Linked DNA regions of Homo sapiens: regions 1 and 3 are each linked to region 2. Evidence: promoter capture Hi-C in 16 types of primary human blood cells and fetal thymus (Javierre and others, 2016). All regions are on one chromosome and are shown on one strand. The core of a region is centred on a gene start or on the middle of the fragment in contact, and the rest is flanking DNA. Distances in the headings are between cores, read along the strand shown.

What was found. Contacts are between HindIII fragments. The CHiCAGO score rates a contact against its expected background, and 5 or more counts as called.
Region 1: the fragment with the promoter of WDR19 here is called in contact with the fragment with the promoter of FAM114A1 in region 2 in 9 of 17 cell types (neutrophils, activated CD4 T cells, M1 macrophages and 6 more); the score reaches 7.6 in neutrophils.
Region 3: a fragment that was not itself captured here is called in contact with the fragment with the promoter of FAM114A1 in region 2 in 3 of 17 cell types (megakaryocytes, M2 macrophages and naive CD8 T cells); the score reaches 6.4 in megakaryocytes.

What each region holds. Positions count from the first base shown.
Region 1 is chr4:39,179,988-39,184,200 of GRCh38, forward strand. It overlaps WDR19 (WD repeat domain 19), which reads left to right and starts at 2,542. Exons shown (of 37, transcript NM_025132.4): 1 at 2,542-2,576. The coding sequence starts at 2,571. RefSeq lists enhancers at 2,211-2,390, 2,242-2,536, 2,661-2,810, 3,511-3,580. The HindIII fragment of the contact is 13,594 bases long and covers 1-4,213 here.
Region 2 is chr4:38,865,585-38,870,134 of GRCh38, forward strand. FAM114A1 (family with sequence similarity 114 member A1) reads left to right here and starts at 2,222. Exons shown (of 15, transcript NM_138389.4): 1 at 2,222-2,250; 2 at 2,814-2,962. It overlaps MIR574 (microRNA 574), which reads left to right and starts at 2,448; the gene lies at 2,448-2,543. It also overlaps a transcript of TLR6 not described here. RefSeq lists silencers at 1,986-2,465, 2,516-2,565 and an enhancer at 2,773-3,356. The HindIII fragment of the contact is 2,847 bases long and covers 1,192-4,038 here.
Region 3 is chr4:39,141,638-39,145,759 of GRCh38, forward strand. It overlaps a transcript of KLHL5 not described here. Among named protein-coding and RNA genes, the nearest start is that of WDR19, 39 kb to the right of the region's middle. The HindIII fragment of the contact is 5,960 bases long and covers 1-4,122 here.

The DNA of each region.
Region 1 (4,213 bases), core at 1,292-3,791, 310 kb after region 2:
CTTGACCTTGGACTTCTCAGTCTCCCTAACTATGACAAATGAGTTCCTTTTCTTTATAAATTACCCGGTTTTATGTATTCTGTCATAAACAACAGAAAACAACTAAGACACCAGACAGGATATACTGGATAAAAGGAATACTTGTAAGTAGTCTTTTAGTGGTATGTGGTAAGGTACAGGATAGGGCAAGTGTTCTATAGTCCTATGATTAGGCCTCAGCCTTTAGTGAGCCGGTGTGGATGGTAAAAGTCACCAGTACTTCCTTTTTTTTTTGAGACGAAGTCTAGCTCCGTCACCAGGCTGGAGTGCAGTGGCACAATCTCGGCTCATTGCAACCTCTGCCTCCCAGGTTCAAGCGAGTCTCATGCCTCGGCCTCCCGAGTAGCTGGGATTACAGGCATGTGCCACCACGCCAGGCTAATTTTTTTTTTTTTTTTTTTTTTTTGAGCAGAGTCTTGCCTTGCTCTGTCGCCAGGCTGGAGTGCAGTGGCACGATCTAGGCTCACTGCAACCTCCCCCTCCCGGGTTCAAGCGATTCCCCTGCCTCAGCCTCCCGAGCAGCTGGGACTACAGGTGCCCACCACCATGCACAGCTAATTTTTTGTATTTTAGTAAAGACGGGGTTTCACCATGTTGGCCAGGCTGGTCCTGAACTCCTGACCTCAAGTGAGCCCCCCACCTCGAACTCCCCAAGTGCTGAGATTACAGGCGTGAGCCACTGAGCCTGGCCACCAATACTTCTTTTTGCTGTTTTTTTTGACGGAGTCTCGCTCTATCGCCCAGGCTGGAGTGCAGTGGCGCGATCTCCGCTCACTGCAAGCTCCGCCTCCCGGGTTCACGCCGTTCTCCGGCCTCAGCCTCCCGCGTAGCTGGGACTACAGGCGCCCGCCAATACTTCTTAATCTCCCACACTTAAGTGGAACAGGATGGTTTATGGAGGCTGAAGTTGAGTATTTCCCTTCTCCCAGGTAGTTTAGGCTCTGATAAAACCCCAGCAGACTAGGCTTTGGTAAAAATACTTTCTCCTGAGGGCAGGTCTTGTTAAGAACTGATTGCTCTGGCTATTTTTAAATGGTTACCCTTTCAGCAGAGGAATCTTTCAGTAAAAATTTAAGTAATTAACCTAACTGTCAGAGGCGTTTGAACCAGAGCGATTCCATTTTGAGTGAGGGCTAGGAAAATGAGGCTGAGACTTGCTGGGCTGAATTCTCAGAATTTGGGCATTCCTCGCCTCTAGATGTTTACGATTAAGGGAATAAATTAATAATGTTTACTAAAACAGACCCAGATATCGGGATATCTGGAGAACAAAGGCATTCCTAATTTTGCTTTAAAGATAATAATATCAATTCCTGCAAAATAATTAAGAAAATTAATCTTTGATCACAAACCCTTGTAGCAGAGCACATCTCCCCATATATACAAGCATTGTACCTAGGGTGGATGCGTCCCTTCTCTTGCTTTCAGGAATGTCCTACTCTGTCTATGGAGTAGCTGTCCTTTCACCACTTTACGTGTTTTAATAAACTTGCTTTTCTCAGCACTGAGAACTCGCCCTGAATTCTTTCTTGCGCGCGATCCAAGAACCCTCTCTTGGGGTCTGGATCCGGACCCCTGTCGTAACGTAACTGAAAACCCCAGTGCAAAGGCATAGCACCCTACTTAAGAATTTGCAAACATTCATTATTAGTTATTTCAAATCATTGATTAACTTTCTCTAAGCCAATCAGATTCCTACCTGATGTCGAAAAGAAAAGCAAAAGGTAGACTGTTTCAACACTTTCAGACGCTTGGGTAAAAGATGCACTTTCATGCTATAAATAATGCAGCACAAATACTGTACAACAGGGCTTTATACTTGGGGAAAAGCTGCCAGATCCAAACTCTAAAGGAAAACTATTGGAGCTCATTTTTCCTGCCCACGTTAGCTAGCACATTTTGTTGACATTGAAAAAAAAAAAAGATTTTGGTGAAACTGAAAAAAAAAAAGCACCAACAACCCTACCTTGAAATAAACTATTGTACCTCTTATGCCTCCTCCCTTCTACCCCAGAAACCTGGAAGAAAAAAAGATATACCCGAGCTCGTCCAACCCCTCTTTGCGTGGACTGTATAGGAGTATTTAGCCCATCCTGCCTCCTTTAATCTAACATTCTGCGTCTTCTTTCCTTCAGCTTCTCGGCGCCCCCTTTGGCCAGCACTGACATCTTAGTCATCGCGGTCCAAAATTTACGCACGCGCCTTTGAGGGCTCACAGAGCCCGTCTCTCCCGGACGAATCTCATCCAATCAGAGCCAGCCAGGAAGCCGAGGCTCAGCAAGGCCTCGCGACGCCCAACTTCCCAGGGTTAGCGTCTCTGATGTCATGTGATTCCACCCTCCGCCTCTCACCCACCCTCGCAGAGGGCGGTGCGCTTGGCCCGGCCCCTCGAGGCACCGCCTTTCAATTAGCACTCGCTGATTGGTCGCTGCTCGCGCGGTCTCCTGGGTGACGGGAACGCGGTAGCCTGCTTGGTGGAGACCGGGTGCGCCTGCGTACTTCATAGTTCGCGTAGCGGCTCGAGCGTGGAGATGAAGGTAAATAACTTACAAATTCCCGGGGTGGGGCGGGAAAACGCGACTACTGGCCCTTGGTCGCTTTTAAAAGAGGATATCTGTCCCTCTCCCTTCTGAGTTCGTTGGAAATGAGGAAGAGAGAGAGAGAGAGAGGTGGCCAGAGAGAGCGGGGGCGAAGCTGAAGGGACGAGAGAAAGGAAAGAAAATAGGAGGAGAGGAGAGGGCGGAGAGAGAGGCCTCTCGTTTTGGGGACTGCAGACGCCGTAGAAGCGGTGCAGAAAGTGGGAACCCCTCCCTGGCCGAAATGAGCGGACTGGATCTAAAGATACCCCAGCTTCGCACGCGGAAAGAACTGGTCGAGTTAACGCGTTTGGAGGGTCGCTGTGAAGTTGACTGGGTCCGATGTCACGAGCTACCTCATTTCTTGGGGCTAAGCCTCTGGCAAGCCGCGCAGCTGCCCAGCGCCTTAAAAAGAATGAAAAGCCTCCTAAAGAATAACTTCAAAATGTATTACCTGTGACCAGTCCAATCACCTGCTAGCGAGTGTACATTATTGACGGGAAATCTGCACCCGAAAACTCAGGTCTCACGCTCATGTGCCTCATCCTCTGCACGCACGGTTTCTAGGCTTGGGCTTCTTGTTCACCCCACTTTCTGATTTATCAGAGCAGTCCCCCCTTGCTCTGCTCTGGCAAAGAAATGGAAGGCTTTTTTTTTTTTTTTTTTTTACTGAGTCTCGCTCTGTTACCCAGGCTGGAGTGCAGTGGCGCAATCTCTGCTCCCTGCAACCTCCACCTCCTGGGTTCAAGCGATTCTCCTGCCTCAGCCCCCCGAGTAGCTGGGACTACAGGCGCGTGCCACCACACCCAGCTAATTTTTTGTATTTTTAGTAGAGATGGGGTTTCACCGTGTTAGCCAGGATGCTGTCACTCTCCTGACCTCATGATCCCCCGACCTCGGGCTCCCAAAGTGCTGAGATTACAGGCGTGAGCCACCGCGCCCGGCTGGAAGGCTCAATTTTAAAATTATTTTAGATGTCCTCATGCTTCTTCGTGGCTATTAGTGTGGAAATTGGAATTGACGGACCAGTAATCATAACTCCCATTTTTATTTCTAAAGCTCTTTACAATTTATGAAATATTAGAAGTGAAGAGTTATTATTCATGATTTACAGTTGAGAATTTTTTGCTGGAGGCAATTTAAACGACTTACTTAAAGCCCTACAGCTAATAAGCTACAAACAAAATTTAAGTCTTGGTTTTTTGGTTGTGAAACTAGCAGTTTTTCCTCTGCACGGTATGTGGAGCATCTATAGAGCTCCACTGAAAAAAAATAATATGAAATCACAGCTAGAGGCAAGTCAGCCATTGAAGGTAATGAAATTCAAGTTTAAGGACTTCTCACTTGCATGAAGGAGTTCCAGGGTGAAATGGTCACAAAATTGCAAAAGTAAGATGCTTTTAAATATTCTTTCTTCATGAGTTTCTTTATGCTCTATAAAACTTTTATGTCCCATGATCATAGCCCACCTCTACTTTCAATAGAGGGGAATTTCTTCTTTAGCATGTAAAATGCTCATTGGGACAGGGTGCGGTGGCTCACGCCTGTAATCCCAGCACTTTGGGACGCCGAGGCAGGTGGATCACTTGAGGTCAGGA
Region 2 (4,550 bases), core at 972-3,471:
GCACAGACGTCTGTGTATATGCTACACCAAAACACACCTGTTGCAACTGGAACATAATTTGATAACACTCGCAAAGCCAGAACTGGAAGGGACTGTGCCGAGCAATGCTCTTTATTTTAGAGGTGGAAAAACTGAGTTACAGAAGCCACGTGTTAGTTAAGGTTCAAAGTCTCGCTCAATTCAAAAAGGCTATTGATCTCAATTTAAAGCAGTTTCCACCCACTCTCACATTAAGATAACTTTCTGGTTTTTCTATGAATTTAAAAATGACAGGCTGGGTGTGGTGGCTCACGCCTGTAATCCCAACACTTTGGGAGGCCGAGGTGGGCAGATCACTTGAGGTCAGGAGTTCGAGACCAGCCTTGCCACCATGGCAAAACCCTGTCTCTACTGAAAACACAAAAATTAGCCGGGTGTGGTGGCACGCACCTGTAATCCCAGCTACTCAAGAGGCTGAGGCAGAAGAATCGCTTGAACCCAGGAGATGGAGATGGTGCCACTGCACTGCAGCCTAGGCCACAGATCAAGACTCTGTCCTCCTAAAAAATAAAATAAAATAAATATTCAGTAGCTTAAAAAATTATTAATATAAAAATATTTAATAAAAATATTAAATAAGAAATATAGCCAGGCACGGTGGCTCATGCCTGTAATCCCAGCACTTTGGGAGGCCGAGGTGGGTGGATCACCTGAGGTCAGGAGTTCGAGACCAGCCTGGCCAACATGGTGAAACCCCGTCTCTACTAAAAAATACAAAAATTAGCCGGGTGTGGTGGCACGCACCTGTAATCCCAGCTACTCAAGAGGCTGAGGCAGGAGAATTGCTTGAACCCAGTAAGCAGAGGCTGCAGTGAGCTGAGATCACGCCACTGCTTTCCAGCCTGGACGACAGAGCAAGACTCCATCTCAAAAAAATGAATTAATAAATTAATTAATATATATATGGAAGAAACTGGAATATAAGGAGCAAACTAATTGTCAATAGGAGAATGATTGAATGAAATATAATTACAAACATATTGCAATATATAAGACAAGTCTTAGAAGAGTGGTTTTGGTTGATATGTATTGACCAAGAAAGATGATTATAATATATAATAAATAGGGGGAAATTTACAAAATACGTCAACATCTCGCCATTTTTATAAAAAAGCAAACAAAAAGCTGTTTATGCATACATGTATTTATATAAGCTTAGAAAAACTATGGTAGGATCCACACACTATAAAAAATGGTAGTGATATTGAAAGGGAGAGACTAGGGCTATTTTTTCTTTAACTTTGAATTTATAATTCTTCAAAAAGAAGAAGGGATGGAGTGAGAGAGGAGAAAATCTGCCTTAAACACATCGCTCAGAAAGAATCACTATTTTTAAATTGTATTTCCTCCGACTTTTATAGAAAATACAAAATTGTTTACAAAACTAGTTAATACTATAAACACTGCGCTTCCTCCGCATCTGAGTTCATATTAAGCCATATTTGAGGAAGGCCTTCATATGTGGCCTTCCCTCCATGTCAACGAATCCTCATTTTTAAGGGCTACAACATATTCGATGTCTGAAGTTACTGTAGCTTACTTCACCAATCTTACTGGGGGACATTGAGATTGTCTCCGGCTTCCCCCCGCAGAAACAACTACAACAAACATCCTTGTACATACATATTTGCCCATTTGACTGCCTACTTAGGACAAATTCACAAATGTGGAATTCCTAGGCCAAAGCTAATACATCGGAGTTTTAACCCACAGCTCCAAACTGGCCTTCTGGAAAGTGGGTTTTCGTTGTTTGTTTGGGGTTTGTTTGTTTTAAATCTATCACACTCCCACCGACAGGGCAAGGGAGTGCTGCTTAACGCAGAATCAGGAGATCAAACTTTAGCTGAATTTGAGCGACCTCTTCCCAGTGACACGGCGGGGGGTTTTCCAAGCCCTTTTAAGGAAAGGAAAGGGATCTGGCGAACCCCGAGACCCACCCGCCCTGGGCTGGAGAGGCGGCGCGCTCTGGCTTTCCGCGCTGGCACAGGGGTGGGACAAGCCAAGTTTCCAGGAGACTCGCCCAGCGCGGGCCCGGCCCTCGCAGCGTGGGGGTGGCCGGGCGTCCCCGCGGCGCTCCTCGTGGGGCGGGGCGCAGGCGGGGCGGGGCCCCCTCTCCAGCCGCCCGCCCTCCGGCCGCGTCCCCGCCGGCCCTGCAGACGTGGCGGGGCGGGACCCGCTGGGCACTCCCGCGCGTACTCGGCCGCCTGAGCGGTAAGAGCCCCGGGCACTCGGTCCCCATCCCCTTCCCCGGGGGGCGGGCGAGCGCGGGGGCGGCTGCCCGGGGGTGGTGGGAACACCATACCTTGGCGCCTCGTCCGGGACCCACGAATCCTGCCCTCTGCGTTAGTGAGAAGCAGTGGTCAGGGAGGACCCGGCTCTGGGGTGAGGGTCTGGGGCGGCGCGGCCGAGGGACCTGCGTGGGTGCGGGCGTGTGAGTGTGTGTGTGTGAGTGTGTGTCGCTCCGGGTCCACGCTCATGCACACACCCACACGCCCACACTCAGGGTCTGCCCCCTCGGCCTGCGTGAACCTCCGCGGAGCCTGCCTGGATCTCCCAAAGTATCCAGTCCTGGCACCAAGCAAGTCTGGAAAAGTGCCCCCAATGGCTCGGGGCCAAGTCAGAGGTGGGCTGCAGGGTCCCCCAGCCCGGGCACGAAGGGAGCAGGTCCCTGTAAGACAGAGGCCTCGTCCCAGGGTGCGCCTGCCCTCGGCCTTGGCACAGGGAGCTCAGGCCTTGACCTCCCCGCTCCCCTCGCCTTACTCCTCCCCCAACAGCCGACCCACGCCCTGCCTGCTCTTCCAGTCCAGCCAACACTCTAAGCAGGCACCGCCTCCACTCGCAGCCCCCGGGATGGGTCCCACTCCCTACCGCAGATCCCCAGGCCCCCTCCACCCAGTCGGCTAGCCCTCGCCTCTGCCATCCGGTGAGTATTTCCAGGCACCTCAGACCAGGCGCCTGAACGTCACTGCCTTTTCTTAAGTAGGAAGACATCTCTCTATGGGCTGTGAGAGCATTACCTATGCCCTACTGATCCCATCATTTCCCATCCTAAACATCTTGAAGGACACAGGCAGGTGGCTTCTTAAATCAGTGTGCTCTGAACTCCCTGTGACCTCAGCCAACCTGTGACAACTGAGAATGAGACAGGCTCTATCCTCAGAGCCTCTTTTTGCCCTCTCTGCAGCCTAGTGGCTCCTTCCCTACCCCACCCATAGGCCTGCGTCCCCGCCCTCCTTTCTTCCATCAAGCCTGAGCTTGGGAAAGAATCTGATAAACTTCTTACATTGTAACCTTTAAGTGAAGGAATGAGACGTTAGGGATGGATTTGAGGCACAAGTGAGACAGTGCAGAAGGAATTTGAGGGTTGGAGGGGGCTTTCTTGAATCTGAGCGATTCAGACCATAAAAGTAAACTTGTCTTTGTTTATTTGACCAGGCTTACATCAAACATGGTTTCTCTTTTATTAATATCAAACACAATGTATTTCAATTCAGTAAATATCTGAGGGACAGAAACCAACCTAGGTGCTGTTGGTCACAGTCTTGGAGGACAGAATGGCAGAAGTAAATACTCCATAAATACATGGAATAGAAATCTGTGCAAAGTGCCAAAAACATAGAAGAGGTAGCAGTTATTTCATTGGAAGCAGTGGGGCAGATTAAGGAAAAATTCAGAATGAAAGGTAACATTAGACACTGGGTGTCTAGAGGAATAGGAGTTTGCCAGGCAGCTGGAGGAAGGGCAGCACCGGGGCAGAGGAACCAGCGTAAGCAAAGGCAGGGAGATGTGAAGAGTTATGGGGAATGGAGAAAAGACTGGTGAGGCAGGAGTGGAGGATACTGAGAGTTGCAAGAGGTGGAGAGAGATTGGAGCTGGATTATGATGGGAAGTGTGAAGATATTTACACCTAATGGTTTTTGAACAGGAGAGCAAATAGGTCCAAAAATGCCTGGCAGCCTCACAGAGAATAGGCTGGAGCCTGGGTACGTAGACTTGTCAAGCTTTATACAAACTCATACAAACTGCTACAACCTGATTAAGAGCCTCTCATCCAGAGTTTTTATTCCTGGTCCTTCGCTGACTGGCACTGTTTTTGTTTTTTTTTTTTAACTGGGGGAGATGACCTCACACAGGATATCATGCTAACCAAATTTTTATGCTGCCAAGTCAGGCCATTTTTTTTAAAAAAATCCATCCACTGTCACTATTTCATAAAATGAAAGACATTTTAATACCAAGAAAAAGCACAAAGGCTAAACTTGAAAGATGAAGGCAGTCCTTTACATTTAATAAATTTAGATTTATGAAAAACTTGCAATCTTGTCCTCATTTTTCTCTATCATCACAGACTTGCCCCAGTCCTGCAGGTGGAGTTTGGAAAAAAAAGCATCCAGATCAGTTTGTCCATCCTAGCTTTACAGAGGAGCAGGTGTAAGCACAGTGAGGATCAAGTTGTGTGCCCACAAAGGGATACTGGGACCAGAGGCCACATCCCTTGACGCCTGCAGGAC
Region 3 (4,122 bases), core at 1,138-3,637, 280 kb after region 2:
AGGTGGGTGTGGTGGCTCACACTTATAATTGTGCCCAGCAAATTGTGCCCAGCAATTTGAGAGGCTGAGGCAGGAGGAACACTTGAGCCCAGGAGTTCGAGACCAGCCTGGGCAACATAGCAAGACACTGTATCTATTTAAAAAAAGAAAAGAAAAAGAAAGAAAAAAGAAAAAGAGGGTGTTGAGGCTAGCAGCAGCCACAATTCGACTATGTGAAGGTGTTGTGCTACTGAATCATGAGAGAACATGAGCAAATCATTTAGAATTCAGTGGGCAAAAAGAGACAATTATGTTGTCTTCTAAATCTTTGAAAATATTGTTTTCATGATTCTTTTAACCAAAGTACCCTATAAACAATTATTTTTATCTCTGAGCCATTATCACTCACGACCACCTCCACCATTCTGTTATGTTTAGCATGCCGTGAAATCACAAACTACACAGGATCAACTGCTTTTTGACAACATCTGAATCATGACAGAGATATTAGAAAAATAAAATGTCTGAGTTCCAAATAAAATTTAAAATACAGTATATTCAAACTCAACATTTTAAGAAAATAATTGTATTTCCCTTTTCTTTTAAAAATTGATTTATTTATACAAAAATTAGCTGGGCGTGGTGGCGGGCGCCTGTAATCCTAGCTACTCCGGAGGCTGAGGCAAGAGAATTGCTTGAACCTGGGAAGCGGAGGTTGCAGTGAGCTGAGATCGCGCCATTGCACTCCAGCTGAGCGACAAGAGCAAAACTCTGTCTCAAAAAAAAAAAAAAAGATTTATTTAGAGAAATGTGGGAGACTTCTTCGGTAAAGTCAGTACTTCTGAAAGAGTATTTTCTCTCTTAAAAGACTGCATCCACTCTGGAGAAGCACCCAGCTGTTCCTTTTGAAACTAAGCATGGACTCATCCTATGATCCAGCAAGGGCACTCGTGGTGTCACTCATGGTGTACCAGAGAAAATGAAGACTGACTCCCAGCACCTTCATTCATAACAGCCCAACACTAGGAACTACCCAAATGTCCTGTAATGGTGAATGGTTAAAGAACCTATGGGACATCCATACCATGGAATACGATCCAGCCATAAAATGGAACAAACCTTTCACACAGGCAACAACTTGGAAGAACCTCAAGGAAATTATGCTGAGTGAAAAAAAAAAAAAAGCCAGTCTCAAAAATGGTGCATACGACATAGTTCTATTTATGTAACATCCAAAAAAATAACATAATTACAGAGATGAAGAACAGATTAGGGATTGTCAGAGGTTAGAGATATGGAGAGAGGATGAATGTGGCTGTAGAGGGATAGCTCTAGGGAGTCTTGTGGTGATGGTAGTATAGTCTCTTGATTGTGGTGGTGGTTATGCAAGGCTATGGATGTGGTAAAAGTGTATAAAGTTACACACACACACACACACAAGTGCATATGTAACTGGTGAAATCTGATTAAACTGTATGGATTGGACCAGTGTCAATTTCTTGGTTTTGATATTATTTTACAGTTGTGTATGATGCTAATATTTAGGAGGCTGAGAAAAAGGTACATGAGAATTTCCTGGACATTTCTTTGCAACCTCCTATAAATCTATCATTATTTCATAAGAAAAGAAAAAAAGCCCACGTACACACATTAAATCTTTATATTTAAGGTGACTTGTTTGAAGATACAAAGACGAGCAGGGGAGCAGGGGAGGGAATTGCTAGCTGTTTGGCATGTATGGTGGCCACTCCCTATGTATTGCCATAGCAATATGGCAGTATTTCCTATGAACAGCGTATTTTTAATATATTAACCAGGAAGATAAAAATGTGTTCTGCATTCAGTGCTAGCCACAGAGTTTCAAAGACCTGATGGAACCAAAGTGTGTTAAGGCCTTAGCTCTGTGTTATACTTGCCAACCTTCTAAGGGTATGGGTATCACATAGAAGAAATCTAAGGACAGGTTTCAGGGCCCTTGATCATTCCTCAACCTGTCAGATCCTGAGTGTTTATCACAGAATGTTTCAGTAAATCAGTTATATTACTTGCCCACCATTTTCACTCCTCCAGAAGATTATTTCTCAAACAATAACAACTTTTTCTAGGTTCCAAATATTATATCCATTGTTTGGCCTTAGTTTTTGTGTGTGTGTGTGGTTTTTTTGTTTGTTTGTTTGTTTGTTTAGAGATGGAGTCTCGCTGTGTCGCCCATGCTGGAGTGCAGTGGTGCGATCTCAGCTCACTGCAAGCTCTGCCTCCCAGGTTCACGCCATTCTCCTGCCTCAGCCACCCAAGTAGCTGGGACTACAGGCACCCACCACCATGCCCGGCTAATTTTTTGTATTTTTAGTAGAGACGGGGTTTCACCATTTTAACCAGGATGGTCTCGATCTCCTGACCTCGTGATCTGCCCGCCTCGGCCTCCCAAAGTGCTGGGATTACAGGCGTGAGCCACCGTGTCCGGCCTTGTTTGGCATTTTTAAATACCACTAGAGTATCCTTATATCTTTTTGTGAAGAAAAATCTAGATTTCTGGTATGTTTTCAAAACCTGAAGTCTCTAGCTACTTGTAACATTTTCACATCTCTTATGCTGATTTTTCTTATTCTCTTAATTTTTAAAAAACTTTTTTTATTTCATTAGCTTTAGGGGTAGGAATGGTTATGGGTTCCATGGATGATGAGTGGTGAATTCTGGGCTTTTAGTGCACCAGTCGCCCCAATAGTGTACATTGTACCCAATAGGTAGTTTTTCACCCCTCATCCCCCTTCCACCCTCCTCCCCCTTTCTTATTTATTTATTTATTTTTGAGACAGAGTCTCGCTCTGTCACCCAGGCTGGAGTGCTGTGGCATGATCCTGGCTCACTGCAACCTCCATCTCCCAGGTTCAAGCGATTCTCCTGCCTCAACCTCCCGAGTAGCCGAGATTACAGGCACGCGCCACCATGCCCAGCTAATTTTTTTGTACTTTTAGTAGAGACAGGATTTCACCATGTTGGCCAGGCTGGTTTTGAACCCCTGATCTCAAGTGAGACACCTGCCTCAGCCTCCCGAAGTGTTAGGATTACAGGTGTGAGCCACCGCGCCCGGCCCATCCTCCCCATTTCTGAGTCTCCAGTGTCCATTATAGCACTCTGTATACCTTTGCTTACCCATAGCTTAGTTCCCACTTGTGAAAACATGCGGTATTTGGTTTTTTGTCCCTGTGTTACTTCACTTAGGATAATGGCCTCCAGTTCCATCCAAATAGCTGAAAATACATTATTTGGTTCTTTTTATGGCTTAGTAGTATTCCATGGTATATATACACCACTTAAAAAAAATAGAGACAGGGTCTCACTTTGTTGTCCAGGCTGGTCTCAAACTCCTGGCTTCAAGGGATCCTTCTGCCTCAGCCTCCCAAAGTGCTGGACTACAGGCATGAGCCACTGTGCTTGGCCTATATACATCACACTTTCCTTTATCCACAAGCTGATGGGCACCTTGGTTGACTCCATATCTGCAATTGTGAATTGTGCTGCAACACACATATGTGTGCAGGTATCTTTTTGATATGGTAACTTCCTTTCCTCCTTTTGGCATGCTTCTCCTCTGTCCTTTTGGGGAAGGCAGTATCTTCAATATTTTTAGCCTCAGAAGACATGGCCAGAAGTTTTGAAATCACCAGCATGAATTATTGAGACAAGGGATATCCCTTGGTCCCTGAGTGCTCCCCAGTGAAGACCTAAACACAGACTTAAAAAAAAATTAAAATTTCCAGATACAGTATCTTCTTAGATGTATTCAGAATGTGGGCAAGTCACAGCTTCTATCTAAGGCTGGTTATGAGACAAACAAAAAGCCTGGATCACAGAATTAAGTTAATTCAACAGGTGTTTTATGACAAGTTTTAATCTGATTTCCAGAAAAGCTAGTTTTTTGAGGTTTTTTGTTTGTTTGTTTTGCTTTGTTTTTGTTTTTGTTTTTGTTTGAGACAGAGTCTTACTCTGTCACCCAGGCTAGAGTACAGTGGTGCAATCTTGGCTCACTGCAACCTCTGCCTCCCGGGTTCAAGTGATACTCTGCCTCAGCCTCCCGAGTAGCTGGGATTACAGGCGCCTGCCACCACGCACCACTAATTTTTTTGTATTTTTGGAAGAGAC